Linked DNA regions of Homo sapiens: all the other regions are linked to region 1. The links are contacts of gene promoters, found by promoter capture Hi-C in blood cells and fetal thymus (Javierre and others, 2016). All regions are on one chromosome and are shown on one strand. The core of a region is centred on a gene start or on the middle of the fragment in contact, and the rest is flanking DNA. Distances in the headings are between cores, read along the strand shown.

Evidence for each region. The method cuts DNA at HindIII sites, captures the fragments that hold promoters and counts their contacts. A CHiCAGO score of 5 or more calls a contact.
Region 2: a fragment that was not itself captured here is called in contact with the fragment with the promoter of CTNNA1 in region 1 in 2 of 17 cell types (endothelial precursors and M1 macrophages); the score reaches 9.7 in endothelial precursors.
Region 3: a fragment that was not itself captured here is called in contact with the fragment with the promoter of CTNNA1 in region 1 in 1 of 17 cell types (endothelial precursors); the score reaches 8.1 in endothelial precursors.
Region 4: a fragment that was not itself captured here is called in contact with the fragment with the promoter of CTNNA1 in region 1 in 2 of 17 cell types (endothelial precursors and erythroblasts); the score reaches 6.3 in endothelial precursors.
Region 5: a contact is called between a fragment that was not itself captured here and the fragment with the promoter of CTNNA1 in region 1, in 1 of 17 cell types (M2 macrophages). The highest score is 5.3, in M2 macrophages.
Region 6: a fragment that was not itself captured here is called in contact with the fragment with the promoter of CTNNA1 in region 1 in 1 of 17 cell types (endothelial precursors); the score reaches 8.4 in endothelial precursors.

Annotation. Positions count from the first base shown.
Region 1 is chr5:138,751,212-138,755,058 of GRCh38, reverse strand. CTNNA1 (catenin alpha 1) reads right to left here and starts at 1,634. Exons shown (of 18, transcript NM_001903.5): 1 at 1,549-1,634. It overlaps CTNNA1-AS1 (CTNNA1 antisense RNA 1), which reads left to right and starts at 1,135. Exons shown (of 2, transcript NR_134244.1): 1 at 1,135-1,536. RefSeq lists enhancers at 467-1,033, 1,034-1,601 and a silencer at 1,305-1,744. The HindIII fragment of the contact is 6,352 bases long and covers 1-3,847 here.
Region 2 is chr5:139,227,656-139,231,502 of GRCh38, reverse strand. No RefSeq gene overlaps it. Among named protein-coding and RNA genes, the nearest start is that of SIL1, 31 kb to the right of the region's middle. The HindIII fragment of the contact is 976 bases long and covers 1,324-2,299 here.
Region 3 is chr5:139,210,523-139,214,369 of GRCh38, reverse strand. No RefSeq gene overlaps it. Among named protein-coding and RNA genes, the nearest start is that of SIL1, 14 kb to the right of the region's middle. The HindIII fragment of the contact is 3,764 bases long and covers 1-3,503 here.
Region 4 is chr5:139,181,410-139,185,256 of GRCh38, reverse strand. All of the region lies in intron 1 of SIL1 (SIL1 nucleotide exchange factor), which reads left to right. Among named protein-coding and RNA genes, the nearest start is that of SIL1, 15 kb to the left of the region's middle. The HindIII fragment of the contact is 1,166 bases long and covers 1,219-2,384 here.
Region 5 is chr5:139,161,189-139,165,035 of GRCh38, reverse strand. All of the region lies in intron 1 of SIL1 (SIL1 nucleotide exchange factor), which reads left to right. Among named protein-coding and RNA genes, the nearest start is that of SIL1, 35 kb to the left of the region's middle. RefSeq lists a silencer at 709-909. The HindIII fragment of the contact is 1,961 bases long and covers 681-2,641 here.
Region 6 is chr5:139,136,872-139,140,718 of GRCh38, reverse strand. All of the region lies in intron 1 of SIL1 (SIL1 nucleotide exchange factor), which reads left to right. Among named protein-coding and RNA genes, the nearest start is that of SIL1, 60 kb to the left of the region's middle. The HindIII fragment of the contact is 621 bases long and covers 1,357-1,977 here.

The sequences.
Region 1 (3,847 bases), core at 385-2,884:
GGGTCAGGCACCCTGGCTCAGGCCTGTAATCACAACACTTTGGGAGGCTGAGGCAGGAGGACCACTTGAGCCCAGGAGTTCGAGACCAGCTTGGGCAAGACAGCGAGACACCATCTCTACCAAAAATACAAAAATTAGACGGATGTGGTGGCGCGTGCCTGTAGTCCCAACTACTTCGGAAGCCGAGGTGGGGGGATCACTTGAGCCCAGGAGACAGAAGCCGCAGTGAGTCATGATCGTGTCACTGCGCTCCAGCCCGGGCGACGGAGACCCCGTCTTTAAAAAAAATGTTTGTTCAAAAGTCCAGATTGGTAAATAATTAGGCAGAAACTATAGGTAACTCCTACACTCATTCTTCATTCTTCCTGTAAAACAAAATAACACATCCTAATTAATTCGATTTATAAATTCCGTTCCTTAAAGTAACACCCACCTGTCCAGTATTTAAAAATCACTGCTGACTAAACACAAATATTCGCTCCACAAAATGCCTATCCTGTCCCAACAATGATGTAAGCATTTCCTTCATCATAAATATAAAATGCCCCGAATTTAGTCGTAGACTTGACATATCTCGCTCTTTTCCAAATAATTGTAAATTCTGTACAAAACACACGCACCAAAAAAATGTCACCAAGATGCAAGAGGACGTAAGAGGGAGTCAACCTTGGAACTGGGCCAACCGCCGCCTGCATTACTGGGAAGCCACTGCTGCCAAGCAAAGGTCAGGCATTCATTCAGGCAACATTTTTTCCAACAAGTGCTTCACACTCGCACGCACACACACGCTCCTTTAAAAGTCAACAACAATTAAAAAAAAAAAAAAACCTCTCTAATGCCACTCCTGAAAACTAGGGCTGAAAGCTAAGTGCGTCCAACCGACAAGAAACCCAGGAAAGCTGAGTAATCCCCGAGTCCAAGTGGACGGTCACGCCAAAAGTCCACACGGGTGTGGCCCACCTACGGCGAAGCTGTATGGGAGAAGCCCGGGCTCCAGCCTCCCGGTTCGCCGAGCCCGCGTCCCCGCCGCCCCATCGGGAAGTCTCAGCGGCCGGGAAGGGGGAGGGGGCAGGAACGCCTCGGAGCCGGACGACAATCACTTCCCGGGAAAGCGGCTCCCAGACAAGCCGCCCCAGGGAAGGAAGGCGGCCGAGGGGCCCGGCGCGGGGCTGCCGCGCGCGCCGAGGCCGCGGTAACAAAGTTTGGAAACCGCGAGAAAACTTTTCCAAGAGGAAACGCGGCGGCGGCGCTGGGCCTATAGTTTCTCCTCCCCAGCCCAGGCGGCCCCCCGACTTCCCGAGCGCTGGGAAGCGCCGGCCGTGCCCGCCCGGGCCCCATACTCGGGCCCTGCGGGGGAAGGGACCGCCGGCCCGACGCGGGTCCCACGCCCGCCCGGGGCCCAATTCCCGGCGACGTCGCCAAAGAAACCGCGCCCCGCCCGCTCGCCCGCCCGCGGCTCGCGGGGCCCAGCTTGGGACGGCCCGGCCCAAGGACCCTCTCGGCCTGGCCCGAGAGACCGCGCCCGCGAGGAGGGAGGTACGAAGTTACCTGCGGCTAGCTGGGCGAGCGCTAAATTCCAGAGGCCCGAAGCAGACGGGCGCTGCTTTGTCTCCCTCCAGTCCGGCTAGGAGGAGGAAATGGGCCGCCCCACGCCCCCGCCCCCGGCCCGCCCCCCGCCCGCGGCCCCCGCCCCTGTCCCGGCCCCGCCCGCCCTTCCTGGCACCTCCCTCCGACTCGCTCTTCCCGGCGCCTCCCGCCGCCGCCCCGCCCGCTCCTCCCGGCCGTTCCGGCCTCCGCTTTTGGGGAAAGGGAAGGCCCCCACCGCGAAGAGAGTCTGGCAACGCCGGACCGGGACCCCCGAGGGACCTCTTCCTCCCCGCCGCCCACCTCAGAATTCCTTCCTCCCCGGCCCCTAGTGGGAGCTTAGGCCGGGAGTGACCCCTGAGAGGGAGGAGGAGCGGTGACTCCTGGAACAGCCCGCGGGCGGAGAGGGCTGCGCGAGGGCAGGTGAGTCACCGCTCCGCGCACAGGTGAGGCTCAGGGGCGGCCTCGCGCGGGCCCCCACCCCGGCGGAATCCCAGAGACGCGACCAGGGGTACTGGGCACGCTCCCCTCAAGAGTGTCACAGGTGTCCCGGAGTCACAGTCTTCTGGAAAAGTGATCTAGGCCAACTACCTGGCTTTACAGAAGGAGAAGCGGAGGCTAAGGAAAGGCCCCACAGCTTCGGGACACAGTGGAACTAGAATCTGACTCTCAGGACCTTTCATAATGTGAGGTGGAAGCGCCCCTAGAATTCACCTAACCCGTCCCCTCACTCCACAGATGGAAACACCCGAAGCCCTCTTGATCAAGGACTTTTTTTTTTTTTTAAGACGGGGTCTCCCTCTGTCGCCCAGGCTGGGGTGGAGTGTCGCGATCACGGCCCACTGCAGCCTCAAATCCCTGGACAACCGACCCTCCCACCTCAGCCTCCGGAGTAGCTGGAACTACAGACACAGAGTCTCACTATGTTGCCAGGCTGGTCTCAAACTCATGGGCTCAAGAAATCCTCCTCAGCCTCCCAAAGTGCTGGGATTACAGGCTAGAGCCACCTTGCGGGGAGGACATTTACAAACACAAAAGAGGCACCGCAGCAGCTGTCCCTTTTTGGGCTTGTTCCCGCCCCGCCCCCAGCACGTCCCCCCTCCCAGCTTGTCCCCCTCCTCCAACAAATTTGAGGGACCTGACTTCTATCTCTATTCCTCTGGTCATTTGGGGCATTTTATTCTTACCCTTTCTTATCTTCATAGTGAATACTCCAAAAACAAAAGAAAACAAAATTACAAAGCAAACAAACAACACAAAAAAACAAAAACTACTACATGCTCACTATCATCCTGGTATAGAAAACCCTAATGATGTTTCCCCTGCTCACGGGATGATGAATAAGATAGATTTCAGTATTGGCCTATAAACCTGAATAATGCAAGACGACGATGTCCACTGCTGGCCTTGTGCTGAATAGAGAGCAGGGTGCTAGGGAGACCTGCCCTTACCGTGTTTACCCTCTACTCCTCACATCTCCCTCTCCCCCAAGGGAATATAAACTTCTGGAAAGCAGGAGCTGTATCTCCTGCAGCACCCAGCACATTGCCCATCCCCTAGGGAGTGCCTAGTGAACATCTGTGGGTGAATGTGCCCACTGTAATTCAAAGTACTGTGGGCCTGTGCTAGTTAACAGATGCTGACAAAGGGCAATAGGACCATGAAGTGGGGAGAGAACAACCTTTAAGAAAAAGAGGATGGGCACAGTGGCTCACACAAGTAATCCCAGCACTTTGGGAGGCCAAGATGGGTGGATCACATGAGCTCAGGAGACCAGCCTGGGCAAAATGATAGAACCCTTGTCTACAAAAAAATACAAAAACATAGCTGGGTGTAGTGGCACCTACCTGTAGTCCCAGCTACTTGGGAGGCTGAGGTGGGAGGATCGCTTGAGCCTGGGAGTTCAAGGCTGCAGTGAACCATGACTGCACCACTGCACTCCAGCCTGGGCAACACAGTGAGACTCTGTCTCAAAAAGAAAAAGAAAAAGGCAAACCCTGACAAGGTCATTCTTGTCCAACTACCCCTGTCCTGTTTCTGGCTGCAGGGTCTTTGCTCCTGTAGTCTCCTCTGCCTAGAGTGGCTTTGGCGTCCCTCTACTTCACCTGGCTAACTCAGAACATAATTCATATATTTTGGATATTTGTCCCTGCCCAAATCTCACATTGAAATGTAATCCCCAGTGTTGGAGGTGGGGCTGGTGGGAGGCATTTGGGTAATAGAGGAGGATCCCTCATGGCTTGGTGCTGTCCTCCAGGTACTA
Region 2 (3,847 bases), core at 562-3,061, 480 kb before region 1:
CGTGAGCCACCGCGCCCGGCCTTCTTTTGCTTGTTAAACTTTTGCTCCAACCTCACCCTTTGTGTCCGTTCTCCTTATTTCTCTTGGTTATCAGACAAAGAACTCCAGGTGATACCTCACAACAAGAGACCGCTACATTGTGGTGCACTGGGGAGACTGTAACACTCCCTCATTGGCCTGGCATAGTGAGGAATTACAGGTGTGAGCTATTGCACCTCGGCAAACTTTTAATTTTAGAATAGTTTTAGATTTACAGGAAAGTTGGAAAGACAGTATAGAGTTCCTACACACTGCACACCTAGTTTCCCCCTCTATTATCATCTTACATTAATATGGCACTGTTGACCTAAAAGAATAAAATGAAGCAAAGTTAATATAGATAATTTATTTAGACCAAGGTTGAAAACCATAGCCCAGAGTCATAGGTTCCAGTTGCCCTGAATATATGCTCTAATTAGCAGCAATTACAAGAGAGTTTTTAAGAGGTTAAAAAGAAAAAAGAAGGGAGAGGATAGTTCCTAAATTGTTTACCAATAACTTATTGGTTCATTAAAATAACATAAGCTATCGATTGGCTATAATTGTTCTTTGTATCACAAATTCCAGGAACGTGAAAATAATGAGTGAGGATCACATTGTGCAACTTGTGGCAACATTTTAGATAATTTATCAGCTAACCTGAAGCTAAAGGGAAGAAGAAAAACAAAATACCTTTAAACAATTTCCACCAGCCATGGGTTGGGGGATGTAACTGAGTCTCAGGCTCATGTCTCTCTCTGTGCCTGATAAATTTTGCAGACCCCCACGTTCCTCACATGCTCTGAGCCACTTTTTTTTCTTTTCTTTTTTTTTTTTTGAGATGAGGTTTCACCCTGTCACCCAGGCTGGAGTGCAGTGGTGCAATCACGGCTCACTGAACCTCGAGCCTCTCAAGTAGCTGGGACTACAGGTGTGCATGATCATACCCATGAATTTTTGTATTTTTTGTAGAGACAGGACTTCACCATGTTGTCCAGGCTAGTCTCGAACTCCTGGTCTCAAGCAATCCACTCGCCTTGGCCTCCCAAAGTGCTGGGATTACAGGTGTGAGCCACTGTGCCCGGCAGTCAGACTTTTTCCATTTTTGATGATCTTAACACTTGGGAGGAGTATTGGTCAAATATTTTGTAGAACGTGCTTTGACTGGGATTTATCTAAGTTTTTCTCATGATTAGGGTTATGGAGTTTTGGAAGGAAGACCACAGAAATAAAGTGACATTCTCATCACATCATATCAAGCAACATGACTTATTACTATTGATTTTAAGCTTGATCACCTAAGCTTACGTTTGCCAGGTTTCAACACTATAAATTTAGTCCTTTATCTCCCTCTTCCCATCCTATACTCTTTGGAATGAAGTTTCTATTCACAGCCTACACTGAAGGAGTGGGGAGTTGTAATCCACGTCCTTGAGGGATAAGTGTCTAAATAAATTATTTGGAATTCTGCAAGAAAGATTTTTCTCTTTGCCTTTTGTTTATTCAGTTAATTAATTTACATCAGTATATACTTATGAATATTTATTTTGTACTTTGGGTTTTAATCCAATAATGCTTCGTTTTGTTGCTCAAATGGTTCCAATTTTGGTCACTGGTAGTTCTTTCAGTTGGTTCCTATGTCTCTTTGACACACTCCCAACATGTGTTTTTGTCTGAACCCTTCCTTTCCTTCTGATACTACAAGATTCTCCAGGCTCACATTATATATTTCCTGCCCCAACCTAAAATCAGCCATATTTCCAAGGAGCCTGGTTTATTTTATTACAAAGATGTTTCATATCTAAAATTGTTATTTCTGGCCAGGTGCAGTGGCTCACGCCTGTAATTCCAGCACTTTGGGAGGCCGAGGCGGGTGGATCACCTGAGGTCAGGAGTTCGAGACCAGCCTGGCCAACCTGGTGAAACCCCACCTCTACTAGAAATACAAAAAATTAGCTGGGTGTGGTGGCAGACACCTGTAATCCCAGCTACTCAGGAGGCTGAGGCAGGAGAATCGCTTGAATCCAGGAGGCAGACGTTGCAGTGAACCCAGGAGGCAGAGGTTGCAGTGAGCCAAGATAGTGCCACTGCACTTCAGCCTGGGCAACAAGAGTGAAACTCTGTATCTAAAAAAAAAATAAATTGTTATTTCTTTGCATTCTATCTGTATCTCCCACTAGAACATTAGGCCTTTAAAATCAGGACCTTTTCTGCTTGTTCACTGCTATATCTTCATTACCTAGAATAGTATCTGGCACACAGGAGGATATCAATAAAAGCTTAGTGAATGAATGAATAAATTAGTAAGGCCAAGTATTGTGCCTTTTTACATATGCATTCTTCATGATGTTATAAGAATTTGATCAAAGTATAGTTGTATTGATAGATGGATACATGGATGTATGAATGGACAAATGAATGAATTAATACTAACCAGATGGACACATTATTGGGTGTATGAATGAATTGAGAAACAGATGGATGGATGTTGCTGCCACTACTATACTCTCTAGTTATTCAGGTGAAAACTAGGTGATGAGGGGCCTCATTCATAATTCCTTCCACACTTTCACCTCCCACATCCAATCAACCACTAAGTCCTGCCAATTTTGCATCTCAAATATTTCTCAAACCCATTTCCTTTTCTTCATTTCAACTACTATTGCCCTGCTGCAGGCTCTCTTCCTCTCTTGCCTGGATGCTTCTGCAGCCATGTAACTCATCTGTCCACTTTCTGCCATGTTTCCATCCCCACCACCATCTACATTCCTGCCAGAAGAATTATTGTAAAATACTGTTATGCCTGTGTCACTCCCTTGCTTAAACCCTTAGGGTAAAGTCTAAGCTCCTTAGCATGATATAAAGTGCCTGTGATGACCTGGACCTTGGCCACTCCTCCACCCTCTCTTCTTGCCATTCTCCACCTTGCATTGATTTGTGTGCCTCAGAAATACCAAACTGCTTGTAGTTCCCATCAGGGATCATGCTGCTTCTCTGCTCTGTCCTTTGCTCGTACTAGTCTCCCTGCCTAGAATGCCCTTTCCTCACATCTGGAGCTCAGAAGTCTTACTGGCTTCAAGTTGTTGAAAGCATGTATTTTTGCAGTTGTGGTTATGCTTATTAGGAGAGCCAGGGCAAGGGCACAAAATTTAAGTTGTTTTGCAAGTGAGAATGAACACATCTTTAAATCTTGTGCCCTGGGTGCTTTACTTATCCTAGTCTTGGCCCAGTCTTGTCTCCTAGGCTGGGAGCTTCCAGAGGGCAAGAATTTTGTCTTTTATCCCTGTAATCCCTAGCACAATGACTGGTGTCTAGTAGGTACTCAGTGTAAATGTTTGTGGGAGGGAAAGAGGGAAGATGAATCAGAAGTCCACTGCTTGGGCCTTCAAATCTAGACTCTGTCTCTTACTAGCTATGGGAATCTGACCAAGTTATTTCTCTGCTTCTCAGTTTTCTTATCTGTGGAAAAGAAATAATAACATCTCCATTACAGGATTTTTTTTCCATTTTAAGGAAAATTACCCGTTTCACCAAAATTTTCAAACTTATTGCTTTAAAATATTTTTTTACAGTGTTCTCTTATGACTTTAAATTTTCTGCTATACAGCTATATCTTCTTTTAAATGTTTTTTTTTTTTTTTTTTTTTTTTTGGAGATGGAGCCTTGCTCTGTTGTCCAGGCTGGAGTGCAGTGGCGTGATCTCAGCTCGCTGCAACCTCCGCCTCCCGGGTTCAAGCTATTCTCATGTCTCAGCCTCCCAAGTAGCTGGAATTACAGGGGCCAGTCACCATGCCTGGCTAATTTTTGTATTTTTAGTAGAGACGAGGTT
Region 3 (3,847 bases), core at 372-2,871, 460 kb before region 1:
TTCAACTTTTCTGAGCTCAGTTTCTGCATCTGTAGGGGAGTAATAGAATAATAGAATCCTTATGAGGCTGTCGTAAAGGTCACATGAGATAATGCATGTACTTAACACAGTGCCGGGCTCATAGTGAGCATTCAATTAATATGGCAATTTGCAATGACCATCTGTAGATTTGCTGCCTAGATTCCATTCATCCTCCATCTGATAACTGTACCCCATTTCTTCCTGGTGAACCATCATTTTCTTTTCATTCCATGTGGTCCTAATGAAACTGACTCCATCCTCAGCATCAGGAGTAGAACATGTGGCGTAAGCTGGGTGCAGTAGCTCACACCTGTAATTCTAGCACTTTGGGAAGCTGGGCCAGGTGGATCACTTGAGGCCAGAAGTTTGAGACTAGCCTGGCCAACATGGCAAAACCCTGTCTCTACTAAATATACAAAAATTAGCTGGGTGTGGTGGTACATGCCTGTAATCCTAGCTACTCAGGTGGCTGAGGCATGAGAATCACTTGAACCTGGGAGGAAGAGGTTGCAGTGAGCCAAGATTGTGCCACTGCACTCCAGCCTGAGCAACAAAGTGAGACCCTGTCTTTAAAAAACAAACAAACAAGGCCGGGCGCGGTGGCTCACGCCTGTAATTCCAGCACGTTGGGAGGCCGAGGCGGGTGGATCACGAGGTCAGGAGATGGAGACCATTCTGGCTAACACGATGAAACCCCGTCTCTACTAAAAATACAAAAAATTAGCCGGGCGCGGTGGCGGGCGCCTGTAGTCCCAGCTACTCGGGAGGCTGAAGCAGGAGAATGGCGTGAACCCGGGAGGCGGAGCTTGCAGTGAGCAGAGATCGCGCCACTGCACTCCAGCCTGGGCGACAGAGCGAGACTCCGGCTCAAAAAAACAAACAAACAAACAAACAAAAAAGAACCTGTGACTTAGGTTTAAATCATTCATACCATTCTATTCTTAGGCCACAGTGATTGGTTCAAGAATGGGGACATACACAGAGTTACCGTACAATCCAGCAATTCCACTTCTAGGTAACCTTGTATGATCAACACTCAGTGTATGCAAAGGATTAGTTCCAGACGCCCAAGTACACCAAAATCCATGCAAACTCAAGTCCTGCAGTTGGCTCTGCAGAGCCTGAGTATACAAAAAGTCAGCCCTCCATATACTCAGGTTTCACATCCTGCGAATACTGTATTTTCAATTTGCATTTGGTAAAAAAAATCTGCATATAAGTGGATCCTTGCAATTCAAACTTGTGTTGTTCAAGGGTCAAGTGTATATGAATGCTCATAGCAGCATTATTCATAATAGTCAAAAAGTGGAAGCAACCCAACTATCTACCACTTGGCATCAGAATGCTGCTATGAACATTCATGTACAACTTTTTTATATTCATACAATGGGCTATTATTCAGCAATAAAAAGGAATAAAGTACTGATTCATGTTACAACATGGATGAACCTTATAAACATTATGCTAAGCGAAAGAGGACAGACACAAAAGGCCATATATTATTTGATTCAATTTATATGAAATATCTAGAATAGGCAAACCTGTGGAGACAGAAAGATTAGTGGTAGCCAGGCACTGGAAGGAGGGGGAATGGGTAGTGGCTGTTACTGAGTATAGGGTTTCTTTTTTTTTTGAGACAGGGTTTGGCTCTGTCGCCCAGGGTGGAGTGCAGTGGCTAACTGCCATTTCTGCCTCCCAGGCTCAAGCACTCCTCCCACTTCAGCCTCTGGAGTAGCTGGGACCATAGGCACTCGCCACCATGTCCAGCTAATTTTTGTATTTTTTATAGGGAAGGGGTTTCTTATGTTGTTCAGGCTGGTCTCAAACTCCTGGGCTCAAGTTGTCTGCCTGCCTTGGCCTCCCAAAATGCTGGGATTACAGGTGTAAGCCACTGTACTTGGCCTAGAGTTTCTCTTTAGGGTGATAGAAATGTTTTGGAATTAGATAGTGGTGATAATCATACAACATTGTGAATATATTAAAAACTACTGAATTGCATACTTTAAAAAGATGAATTTTATGGAATGTGAATTATATCTCAATTTAAAAAACTAAACCAGATAAAATAAAACAGTGGACATATGTCTCAAGTAGACTAATGACAGCCAGTAAGACCCACTCTAATTCTTTGGAGTCATGAGGGAAGCAAACTAGTTCCTTTCTTTCAGGACTCCAACTTGAGAGAATATAGGGTCTGGAGCTGCTGTCCTGTCTTGCTATGTGTAGATCCGGAGACTGAATTATCCAACTCAGCTGAAAGCAGAGCCAAGAAATGGAGACACCAAGACCTGTTTACACATTGGAGCTACAGTAATTAATTGTCCCAGTTTGCCTGGGACTTTCCTGGTTTTAGAACTGAAAGTCTGTATATCACGTTAAGCTGGAGCTCCGAATCCACCTCTGCTTGAAGGTCAACATGTTACCCGTGGACTTTTCAATTACAGTCATGCACCATGTAATGATGTTTTGGTCAATAACGGATCACATATGCGATGGTCATTCCATAAGATTATACTACAATAGTTTCACTGTACCTTTTCTATGTGTAGATATTTTTAATTTTAATTTTTTTTTTTTTGAGACACAGTCTCACTCTGCCACCCAGGCTGGAGTGCAGTGGCGCAATCTCGGCTCACTGCAACATCTCCCTCCCCGGTTCAAGCGATTCTTGTGCCTCAGCCTCCTGAGTAGCTGCAATTACAGGTGTGTGCCACCATGCCTGGCTAATTTTTTTATTTTTGGTTTTTTTTTTTTGAGATGGAGTCTCGCTCTGTCACCCAGACTGGAGTGAAGTGGCGTAATCTCGGCTCACTGCAACCTCCGCCTCCCGGGCTCAGGTGATTTTCCTGTCTCAGCCTCCGAGTAACTGGGATTACAGGCAGGCGCCACCACACCTGGCTAATTTTGTATTTTTAGTAGAGACAGGGTTTCACCATGTTGGCCAGGCTGGTCTTGAGTTCCTGACCTCAGGTGATCCGCCCGCCTTGGTCTCCCAAAGTGCTGGGATTACAGGTGTGAGCCACCGAGCCCGGTCCTCTGTTTAGATATGTTTAGATACGCAAATACTTACCATTGTGTTACAATTGCCTACAGTAATCAGTATAGTAACACGCTGTACAGATTTGTAGCCTAGGAGCATAGACTAGACTGTATAGCCTAGGTGTGTAGTAGGCTATACCAGTGGTCCCCAGCCTTTTTGGCTCCATGGATGGTTTCATGGAAGACAATTTTTCCACGGATGTGGGGAGTAGGGTGGCAGTATGGGGGGTAGCAATGGTTTCAGGGTGAAACCGTTCCCCCTCAGATCATCAGGCATTAGTCAGATGCTTATAAAGAGCACACAACCTACATCCCTCACATGCACAGTTCACAATATGGTTCGTGCTCCTGTGAGAATCTAATGCTGCAGCTGATCTGACAAGAGGCGGAGCTCAGGCAGTAATGTGAGCAATTGGGGAGGGGCTGTAAATACAGAAGAAGCTTTGCTTGCTCACCTGCTGCTTACCTCCTGCTGTGAGGCCCGGTTTCTCACAGGCCATGGACTGGTACCAGTCCATGGTTGAGGACCCCTGGGCTATACCATCTAGATTTGTGTGAATACACTTTATGATGTTTGCACAAGGACAAAATTGCGTAAAGACATTTCTCAGAACATATCCCAGTCATTAAGCCATGGATAACTGTGCATGAGTCAATAAATTCTCTTTTTGGCCAGGTGAGGTGGCTCACACCTATAATCCCAGCATTTTTGGAGGCCAAGGCAGGCAGATCACTTGAGGTCAGGAACTTGAGACCAGCTTAGCCAACATGGCAAAACCCCGTCTCT
Region 4 (3,847 bases), core at 552-3,051, 430 kb before region 1:
CTTGGACAGGATGCCATCCCATTTCAAGGTACACTCACACACCCTGACACTCATGCAGACTGGACCCCTTACACGCAACAGTGAACCTAACAGGCACGTCTTCGGGATGTGGAAGGTGACTGAGGACTTGGAGAAAACCCACACAGACATGGGGAGAATAAGCAGACTCCACACAAGCAGTGGCCCTGGCTGGGAAACAATTATTTTTTTCTCGTCGGTGTTATAAGGAAATAATGTTGATCGAAGCAATGTTATTTGGAGACCTGCTGTATTGTTATTTTTTAAATGTAGCTGAGCAGACCCATGTGTGGTCTTCTCTTCAAATTTTACTCTGTCCTCACTTTATTCCTGACATATGGATTTCTCTGTAAACAACTGGACCCAGTCGCTGTAGACTGCCTCTCAGATGTGACAGCTTGGCCTCTCTGCTCCCTAGAAATGTCCTAGGGTTTCTCATGCAGGGGTCTTTGGAATAACAATCAGGTGTAAAGTATGTGCAATATTTTACTGTTTTCAAATTTTACTGTTTTCAGTCTGATTCTTATGACATCCCCATTTATTTATTTTTTAGTTGTAGTTTTTTTAGAGACAACATCTCACTCACACCCAGGCTGGAGTAACAGTGGTGTGATCGTAGCTCACTGCAACCTCAAAATCTTGGGCTCAAGATATCCTCCCACCTCAGCCTCCTGAGCTGGGACTATAGGCATGTGCCACCATGCCTGGCTAATTTTTTAAAATTTTTTTGTAGAGATGGGGTTTTGCTATGTTTCCGAGGCTGGTCTTGAACTCCTGGCCTCAAGCGATCCTTCCACCTTGACCTCCCAAAGTGCTGGGATTATAAGAATGAGCCACTGTGCCTGGCCACACAACACCCCCATTTTATGGTGGTAAAATATTGAGGCTCGGAGAGTCTAAATGACCCATTTAGGGTCATACTGCTAGCCAGAGTAGGGCTGTGACTAATCCAGGTAGCTTTGTCTCCTATTAATGTACCTTGTTCTTAGTTCTTGTAGCAATGAGGCAGTCCTCTTTGGAATTCTTTACCATTTCCAGGACCATTGCAGTTAGGGCAGGAATGGAGTGGTGGTGATTCCTCTTTCCTCTTTTGGTTTGAACCCTCCTTTCAGGATGCTTAGTTACACAGGCCTGTCCTCTCTGGAAAAAGGGGATCAGTAGTAGGTTTCTCCACTTTTTGGAGAAACCTAAACTAAAGCTTCAATGGGGCAATACCTTTTAGGAGAGTTTGAACTGACAGTCTGGCTTCCTATTCTTTGCGGAGAGTTATTGCTGCTATTAGGCAGAGGGCTTTGTTTCCAGGTTACAAATCTTTTTAGCAAAGAAGTGAGTGTGGAATAGAATTGGAAGGACTTGTGTAGTCCTTGGATATAATTTAATGCTCCACATCCCAGAGAGAGTAAACATTGTAAAGTGTGCAAGATGGGTTTGGATTAATATCCTGACAGCATGTGGCTTGGCATGTAGGGCATTCCTTGGAGACCCTTCTTACCATACACAGCCTGCCTTTGCCGGGTGGCCTCTTCCCACAGGTCTTCCCAGCAGCTGTTGTGCACCTGGGTGAATCATCCGCTTCCCTGTGCTTTGAAAAAACCCATTTTAACTGATGAAAGCCCTCATACAGGAGGTGCAATAAACAGACAACCTTGAAAATGTTTTTTAGTACAACCTAAGCTGCCTCTGAGTTTGTCCAGGGTATTCACCTCCATTAGGAGCACTGGCTGATTCTCACCTCTGGTCTCTTCTGAATAGAATATGGAAAATCACCTTGCCCTTTCTACTCTGCTGCACCTGACATCATGGGTGTGGAAGGTCTCTGGAAACTCCGGGGAGGCAGGAGCACCATGGACATGGAGGGAAGGCTCATTTGCTTCTAAGGACCATGCAGAAATCCTTGGCTTTTTACTTCTGTTAGTCCTACTTAAATCAGAATTTAAAGCCTTCAAATAGAATTCTGTGTATGGCTGACATAGCATGGAGTAGGGAAGGCTTCTTTGTAATTTCTGAGGAGAACTTGGGGGCATGTAGAGGTCATGCTTAGGTTCTTTCCTTACCCAGACCTGACCTGTGCCGGGCCAGAGAGGTTTGCCCTAGAAAGCTGATGACTTAGGACCTTACTGGTGTGCAGCTTTGCAGGCCTGTAAACTTAGTTAGTTCATCCAGGTTTCAGTTCCTGGGGGCCTGCCTCAGGCATGTGAAATTCATAAGAGACCATCAAGTCACAGTTCCAGTTAACTAACTCCAATAAACATGACGACTAAGTTGATTTATGTGGACATGTAAGAGCATCTCTCCTCTGTAGGAGAGATTAGCTGGGAAGCCAGCTCCCCTCTGGAGGAAACCAAGGCAAATTATGGTGGCAAGCTTTTGGGTCATAGCATCAGATACACCCAGATTTAAACCATGTAACAGCTGTGAGACTTCAGAGGAGCTACTCAACCCCCCTGCTCCTGTGTCCTCAGCTGTGAAACCCCCTGGGTTTTTCAGATATATACATGGTAAGCACTCAATAAATGTTTTGTCTCACTTGTTTCTCACTCTTCCCTCTTCCCCTTTTCTCCTTCCCACTTTGTCCTTCTAGGGCTATATTGTAATCTGACCAGAATACACTTGTCAGTCTATTAAGGCACCAGGTACTGGAGATAGACTCATTTTTATTCTCTTGGCTCCCTTTATATATTCTTTGCCGTCCACGGCTCTTTTGTTACCACAGGTTACAATAGGAACAGTTAGATTCTAGCTCTTGTCAGTGGCTTCCAACCTAAGGGTTCTTTCTGGTTACCATTCAGTCCACCATTATTTGCTGAGTACCCATTGTGTGCCAGGACCTGCTTAGCCCTGGAAATACAGTGATGAATGAGACAGATGTGGTCCATGCCTTGAGTAACACCTCTTCAAACCCCCTCCTTAGATAGGTGACTTCTGTGGATGACTCGCCCTGCTCATTCCGTGTTGCGTCATATTAATTTCCTTCTGAGAGGGCAATCTTCTCCTTAGACCTAGGGAACAGTGCCTTTTTGTGCTGCGTGGACCTTGCCTGCTGGCTTGCCTGCTCCCAAGCAATGAGAGCAGCGTGTTGAGGCTGAAGGAGAAAGCCCCCCGGGCTACTACTGCCCTGGCCACACATGTCCCAAGAGGCTGCACTTGGCACTTCTGAATGTTCCTTTTCTCCTTGCACACAGATTATAGTGTTTACTGCTCGTTTAAATTCAAATAACCTTCCACCCCCTTCTCTGCCTTAAAAAAAACCAAAAAAACAAAAACTGTGTATTACAGTGTAGAAAACAAAACAGGCCAGCCCTGGTCCCCTGGCGAGGTTTGTTTTAACATCATTTTTTAGTGAAGCCTTGCTATGGGTTGCCTTTACTTTAATAGGGCTAATGTGTAATTCAGGCATATTGATAGTCTGCAGTTAAAGAATCTCACATCTTTTTTCTACCTTGATTGTCATCAACAGTGTGAAAGGTAGATGCAAGGGCTTTGGCTGACAGGAGGTGGGACTTCTCTGCTTTGGCCTCCAGACTCTATCCTGGACTCTGGCGGGTCCTATAAAGAAGGCTGAGCAGCCAGTTTAGTGATTTCTCAACTTCAAAATAGAAGCCTGGAGATAGTCCTACCCCTCCTCTCCCTTCTGCCAATTTTACCAGCAATTGCCAAGAACTGTGTGTGGGGAACCAGGCAGAATGACTCTCTGGAAATCATTTGTTTGAGAACTCCCAGTGGAGGAATGCATTTTCCTGTGCTTCTTCTCTTGTGATGGTGTGTGCTGTTGTGATTTGGTACTGCTTGTCCCTCTGCAGTACTGAGACTTGTATATAACTCCTCCAGC
Region 5 (3,847 bases), core at 412-2,911, 410 kb before region 1:
GGTAGGGGATTCTCTATAGAATATGTGGATTTTTCCCACAAGGGATCACTTTGCAGGGCCATTCAAGATATGGCAGAGAAACATGTTTTGGGGTAAAATATTTTTATTTTCTTCCTTGTTATGCCAGAGTCAGATTGGAAAGTAAGTCTCAATATACATGGTTAAATAAAACCCATCTGATGAGAATTTACTGTTTGTAGGACATGACTCCCCAGACCTTTTAGATAGGAATTTGGGCCAGATAAAATCAGAGTTTAGTCCTCATTGCTTTCTACTCTACCATCTTCCCACCTCTTCCTTACTAGCTTTTGGACTTTGTTCTTATTACTTCTGTGACTTAGTTTCTTCATCTGAATAAGTGTGTACTGATACCCACCTCCTAGGGCAGTTAGGATGAAATGAAATAATGGAGGTCATGTGCTTGGCACATGGTAGGTGCTCAATGAATGGTGAAGATTGTAATGCCTTTAAAGAGCTCAAGTTTCATTAGGGACAGAACCCATGGGCCCGACCCTAGGGGCTGAGAGAGGCTGACTAACGACATGGGGACAGTGGGGTTGGGTTTGCCTTGTTAGGGAAGGTTCTTGGAGAAGGTATTTGGAGTCAGGCCTCAATCTGTGTCCCTTACTGGGGAAGGTGAGCGGCTCCTTCAAGTAGAGAGAAGGCAATGGGCAGAAGCTTTGAGTAGTAACCAGAAAGAACTGTTTTTTCTCTTCCCTCTTGTGAGGGAAGGGATGGAGTCATTAGAGAAAGTAGCTGGTGCACTGGCTCTTTTGAGTCAGAGAGACTTGGAGTCCCTTCCTGGCTTTGTGCCATGTACATGTTGCGTGGCCTTTGGCAAGTCATTTCCCCTCCTGTCTGAACTTTGGTTACTTTATCTGTAAAATGGAGATGATAATATCTTTTTTTTTTTTTTTTTGAGACATTCTCTTGTTGTTGCCCAGGCTGGAGTGCAGTGGCACGATCTTGTCTTACTGCAACCTCTGTCTCCTGGGCTCAAGCTATTCTTGTGCCTTAGCCTCCCGAGTAGCTGGGATTACAGGCTTACGCCACCATACCCAGCTAATGTTTGTATTTTTAGTAGAGACGGGGTTTCACCCTGTTGGCCAGGCTAGTCTTGAACTCTTGGCCTCAAGTGATCTGCCCGCCCAGCCTCCCAAAGTGCTGGAATTATAGGCGTGAATTATAGGAATTATAGGTGAGATGATAATATCTACTTACAGTGCTGGATGAGGATGAAATAATTGCAATTTTAAATGGCAAAAACCACAATTACTTTTGCACCAACCCAATATTTAATACATTTAGTACAGTGCCCTTCACTTAGTGCATATTTAATAACTGATAAATTAAAAAATAGTGAAGCAGCTGGGCATGTTGGCTCATGCCTGTAATCCCAGCACTTTGGGAGGCCGAGACGGGCGGATCACTTGAGCCCAGGAGTTCAACACCAGCATGACCAATATGGTGAAACCCCATCTCTACCAAAAACACAAAAAATAGCCAGGCGTGGTGGTGGGCACCTGTAATCCCAGCTACTCAGGAGGCGGAGGCAGGAGAATCGCTTGAACCTGGGAGGTGGAGGTTGCAATGAGACGAGATGGTGCCACTTGACTCCAGCCTGGGTGACAGAGCGATACCTTGTCTCCACAAAAGAAAAAACCGAAAAAAAAACAAAACAGTGAAGCATTTCTTTTGGGGAAATTAAGCTGTTTTAAATTTCTGTGGTTAGATAACTTTTCTGAAAAGTCAGTTTCCATCTTGGAATCAGTTATCAGTTTCCCTCAATTTCTTAAGGAGCACGTCACCTTGCTGCCTGACGCCCTTTGGGCTCACCATCATACTTAGAATCAACTCCAAACTCCTTAGCCTGGTTATAAGGCCTTTCATATTCCGATCCCTGCCTGCCTTCCTTGGCAGCTTTATCTCCTAACCTCCCCTACTCCCTTCTGCTTGCCTTCTGTGTTCTGGACACAGTAACTTACTTTCTGCTTCTTAAACAGAGGGCCTTTGCTCCACCTGTACCCTCTGCCTAGAATATTTTTCTCTCGTCTTCATTGGATGAGCTCTTTGTCATTCTCAGCTCAGTTCTGCTGTTATTTACAAGAAAGGCTCTTCCTTTTATCTGGTATAAAGTGACTACTTAAGTCACCATAACTTAACCACTTGATATTTTTCTTGCTTTTCTGCTTCTTGTTGACTCTGTTTTCCCTCCACTAGAACGTAAGTTTCATGAGAGTAGGGACGAGATCTGTTTGTCACATTCACAGCTGTATTCCCAGTCCTAGGAAAGGTACCTGGCATATAGTAGATGATCAAACAACATTTGTTGAATGAATGAGCTGTGAATGAGAATGTGTTCTTTTATTACGCTGAACCTGGGTACACAGGTGTTCACATTCACATTCCTACTGCTTTGTTCCTTAAATAAATGTAATCAAGATGATTTTCTTTCTTATTCATTAACTATTGTGCTCCTCCACTCCCATTAATTGGAACAGTCTGTGGAGAGGCCATTTTCCCCTTCCTTCGTTTTATGTGGCTCTCTTTCTTCCTAGCATTTTGTTACTGGAAGGGGGAGTTTGTGGTTGCTAGGCTTTGAGCATTGATTTTTAGGATTTCTGTCATAAGGAAGCAAGCTTTAGTGAATTGGTTTGGAATAAAACAAACACAAAAGCTCACCAGGAATAGCAAATTTATCTCACTCTGATTTTTTACTGACATTTTTTGTAGTACTCCCTAAGTTCTTAGATAAGGTCATTAGACAGGAATTGACAATGGCCAGATAGAAACAAATTCACAGAATGTGAGTGGGTGGCAGGGTGAGACATGGAGAGGTCAGAGGGGATAGTGCTTCTCTTTCTGGTAGTGGCCTGGTTTTTCATGGCAAATATTGGCCAGTGTAACTGTTCTCCTTTCGTAGGGCCTGTATGTTTGGGAGCTGTAGAGACTGTAGGGGGACTGCTCAGTGCTGGTGTGCCCACCTGGTAAGGCCTAGGCAATCCTAATTTTTTTTTTTTTTTGAGACAGAGTCTCTCTCTGTTGCCCAGGCTGGAGTGCAGTGGCATGATCTTGGCTCACTGCAACGACCACTTCCCAGCCTCAGATGATCCTCCCACCTCAGCCTCCCAAGTAGTGGGGACTACGGGAGCGTGCTACCATGCCCAGCTAATTTTTGTGTTTTTAGTAGAGATGGGGTTTTGCCATGTTGCCCAGTCTGGTCTCAAACTCCTGGACTCAATCTGCCCACCTCAGCCTCCCAAAGTGGTGGGATTACAGGCATGAGCCACCGCACCTGGCCAGCAATTCTAATTCTTTGCTTTTCTAGGGAAGTGCTCCAAGCTCCTGGGAGTAAGGAAGATGTGGGACTCTGGTCACTTTTGAAAACGTTTGAGTCCTAAATGTTATTGGTGCTCAAAGACCTGGTTCTTAAGATAATAAAATCCCAGGGATGGATATGAGAAAGAGAGAGTGTCTAGAACAGGGTTAGCCGACAGATGTTCATTAGCTTTCCCAAAAACAATTCTTTGTGTGTTGAGAACTGTAGCCCTGCAGATACTGGTCTCTACTCATGTCTAGGGCTCCTTTTTCCCACCTGAAGCTGGCTTCTCCTTTTCCTTTTCTCAAAGCACATGGTTACCTTTAACCTGACTTAGATGTTGTCTACTCTTCACTATACGGCTCTCAAATGAAGGATATTGGACAGCCTGCTTGTTAGCTTTCTCCTTCATTTCCCTTATTTAAAGATTTGGCCTTGTGGCTGACTGAGGGTATTTGGTTATTCTTTTTTTTGAGTCAGAGTTTCACTCTTGTTGCCCAGGCTGGAGTGCAATGGCGCGATCTCAGT
Region 6 (3,847 bases), core at 418-2,917, 390 kb before region 1:
GCTACCTACCCAGCTTCCTACCATCCCTTGTAGAAGGTGCCCGGATTTTCTCTGGGCATTCGGTGGGATTGTGAAAGCCGTGAGTTATGGCTCCCTGAGCTGTGTTGAGAGGCATCTGATTTTTGTGTTTCTGCCCACATATGTAAATGTGTACATTTTAAAATTCATCTCCCTTTCAAGTTTTTAAGGATCTGGTATTATAAATAGTCTTGGGCTCTCAGGCATGTTAAAAATAAAATGTTGCAGTTGCTGACTTACCTGGAAGACATAGTTGATACCAACATGGTAGTAGCAAGTCCTGTGCTTGGTGACCCATCCTCGTATTGTTGCTAAGTGTTTCTGTAAGTAAATGCTATTTTCTTGGGGCTCCCCAATTAGTTTAAGGAGTACCCTAATTATTGCCTAGCTCATTATTACAAAGTTGTAATTAGTGTCTTTTTTTTTTTTTTGAGACAGAGTCTTGCTCTGTCGCCCAGGCTGGAGGGCAGTGGCTCGATCTCGGCTCACTGCAACCTCCGCCTCCCAGGCTCAAGCAATTCTCTTGCCTCAGGCTCCCGAGTAGCTGGGATTACAGGCACCCATCACCACACCTGGCTAATTTTTGTATTTTTAGTAGAGACGGGGTTTCACCGTGTTGGCCAGGCTAGTCTTGAACTTCTGCCTCAAGTGATCCACCTGCCTCGGCCTCCCAAAGTTCTGGGATTACAGGCATGAGCCACTGCACCCAGCCTCAACTAATTTTTGTATTTTTTAGTAGAGATGAGGTTTCACCATGTTGGCCAGGCTGGTCTTGAACTCCTGACCTCGGGTGATCCACCTGCCTCAGCCTCCCAAAGTTTTGGGATTACAGGTGTAAGCCACCATGCCCGGCCCCAACTAGTTTTTGTATTTTTTAGTAGAGATGAGGTTTCACCATGTTGGCCAGGCTGGTCTTGAACTCCTGACCTCATGTGATCCACCTGCCTCAGCCTCCCAAAATGCTAGGATTACAGGTGTGAGCCACTGCGCCTGTCCTTTTCTTTTTAATAATTATGCTGTCTGAGACTAAGATGTGGAAGGCCACATTATCCACTGAATGTGAACAGGACATCATCCACCTGAGGCAAGTGACAATATCTTTTGTATATTCTGTTCCATAGTATGGTGCCCAGTGTGCTCAAGGAACTGACATTAATGCTGAAATTATCTTTGTGTGGTATTTGCTTTTAGAGTGTGAGTGCTGAATGCTTGCAATAGAAATGGCAAACAAATTGTACTTACCAGTTAGCAGATAGTTCCTTTAGAACTATGGACTGGAAATCATACCTTCTTCCCTATTTTAGCCCCTTTAAGAGGCCCTGATGTTTTCTGGAAGCTTAGAGACATCAGGGGAAAGGAAAGATGAATTCTGATCTCTCCTCCCCTCGAACCCTGACCGTGGTATCTGGATGACTGTGGTGTGAAAGTCCCTGGTGTTCTTTGGGAGCAGGCTATAGAGAAAGCCCATCGCACATACTGTCAGGAGATCCAGTTACTATTTTAAAAGGGGAGGGAAGAAAAGCCCTGGGACCCTTAGTCCCTGGATGCTAGCTGCATCTGTCTACAGTGGTCCCAGCAGTCTAGGTCAGCTGCATTTGCCCCGGCTGTTCCTACTCTCCCTGACTCCCCCTTAGAGGTAGGAGAGTGGCAGCAGGAATTTGGAGACAGGCCTGAGTCATCAGGAAGCGGGACTCTGAAGTGTTTGATGTCAGTCAGCTGGCACTGATGCAGAGCCAGCCAGCATCGCTTAAAGGTTTCAATGGAAATGTGTCTGTAACCACCCAGAGTATAGTCCAGGTGTGTGGGCTGACTTGTGGCTCAGGGAAGCTAGTCTCCAAAGAGGGGCTTGGTTGTCAGAACAGAAGACAGTTCTGTATGGGGGTGAAGCCCTCGCTGCTTTTGCTTATCCTATTCTTTGCTCAGAATTTTCTCTAATAATAGTAGTGAGAGCTATAAGCTTTATGAGCCCTCATTTTGTGTCAGGCACTGTGCTATATGCTCTATGTCATCTCATTTAATATAGACAGTCATACTAAATAGTTACTATCAAGTCCTCTTATAGATGAAGGGGTTGAAACTTGTAGAGGTTAAGCATCTGGCCCAAAGTCACACAGCTAGTAGGGGAGACTTGGCTCAAAATCCAGAGCCTGCATTCTTCCTATTACACTGTAGTGGGTTGGAAGGGAATGGAGCTTCTTGTAACCTTGGTTGTTATCAGACATGGGCTGATCACTCCCGGTACCTCAGGCAGGGTCAAGGATCAGGTATAAGGAGTAGGTCCCCTTGTCTGTATCTTGCTAGGAGCTTACAGTCTAGGACCTACTGGAAAGTACAGACTAGGACCTGAGTATTCCTCTGATTCATCTGGTCAACTGCTGGTATGCTTAGGCAAGCCCCATTCACCAAAGAAGACTCCGTCTTTGTCTGCCATGTAGAAATACTTCTGTCTTGTGTATTTTCTGCATGGAGGGGCGAGGTGTCAAGTTCTTGCCAGACAGTTGGGTGTGTGTATATACGTGGTGTGTGTGGTTGTGGTTTGTGTGTGTGTGTGTGTGTATATGTGTGTGTGTGCCTGGCACTGGGCTCCATGAAGGGGAGCAGGGATGCTTTTGCTTCGTGTATAGCTAGGAAGCTTGAGTGATAGGAGTTTAAGGGATCAAGTCACAAAGGAAGCCTGGCTGCAATCTGAGTCAAGGGATTTCTTCTTCCTGAATGCCTGTGCCTATGCCTTGGCTGGTCTGTGCCAAGGGCATTTAGTAATCAAGGTGCCTGTGTGTGGTATGTGTGTGTGTGCGCGTGTGTGTGGTGTGTGTTTGTGTGTGGTGCAGAAACTAGAACATGGTAGAGGTGGGTCTTTCCACAAGAGGGCCCCAGTAGGCTCATTTAAAAATTTCTGTCCTTTCTACATATGGCTAGCCAGTTTTCCCAGCACCCATTCAGAGGTGGGAATTGAACAATGAGAACACATGGACACAGGAAGGGGAACATCACACACCGGGGACTGTTGTGGGGTTGGGGGAGGGGGGAGGGATAGCATTAGGAGATATACCTAATGCTAAATGACGAGTTAATGGGTGCAGCACACCAACATTGCACATGCATACATATGTAACAAACCTGCACATTGTGCACATGTACCCTAAAACTTAAAGTATAATAATAATAAAATTAAAAAAAAAATTTCTGTCCTGACACAAAATGTGCCTTTTTATTTATACTGTTGCAGAACAAATAAAATGATGAGTCCAGTTTCTGTGGCTGATTTCACAGACCCCTCGAGAGACAGCACGGCTATGGAAAGAGCATGGCTTTGGGGCCAAACTGGCTTTGAATTCTGACTCTACTGCTCTGTGGCTGCATGAACTCTGGCACGTTACTTAACCTCTCTGAATTTTGGTCCCCTCATGGGTAAAATGAGCAGCATATTGGAACCACCTCAGAGGGTTGTCGTGAAGAGTAAATGAACTAATACTTTGCTTGCAACATGGAAAGTTCTCTATAAATGTTGACTATAATTATTATTTGACAGAATTAATTTTCCTCTGGGATGCCCAGATAGTATATTTGAATGCTGGGGGAAGGGGTGGCACTAGGGTATTTCTCTGTCTCCGCCATGGCGGAGTTATTATTACATTTCCACAAAGTGGAAGGACTAAAGCCTCCGGGCAGTCTGAGGCATGGCTGAGAGCCCAGAGAAGGTAGAATTGTGTCTGATGGGAGTTTCTTCTTAGAAATTTTACCTCCCTGCCCCCTCCTTCTGCTGGAGTGACTGATGCCCATCATTGTCCTGAGGTCATGTGTGTTGTGGGGTAGCTCTTCATCAATCATA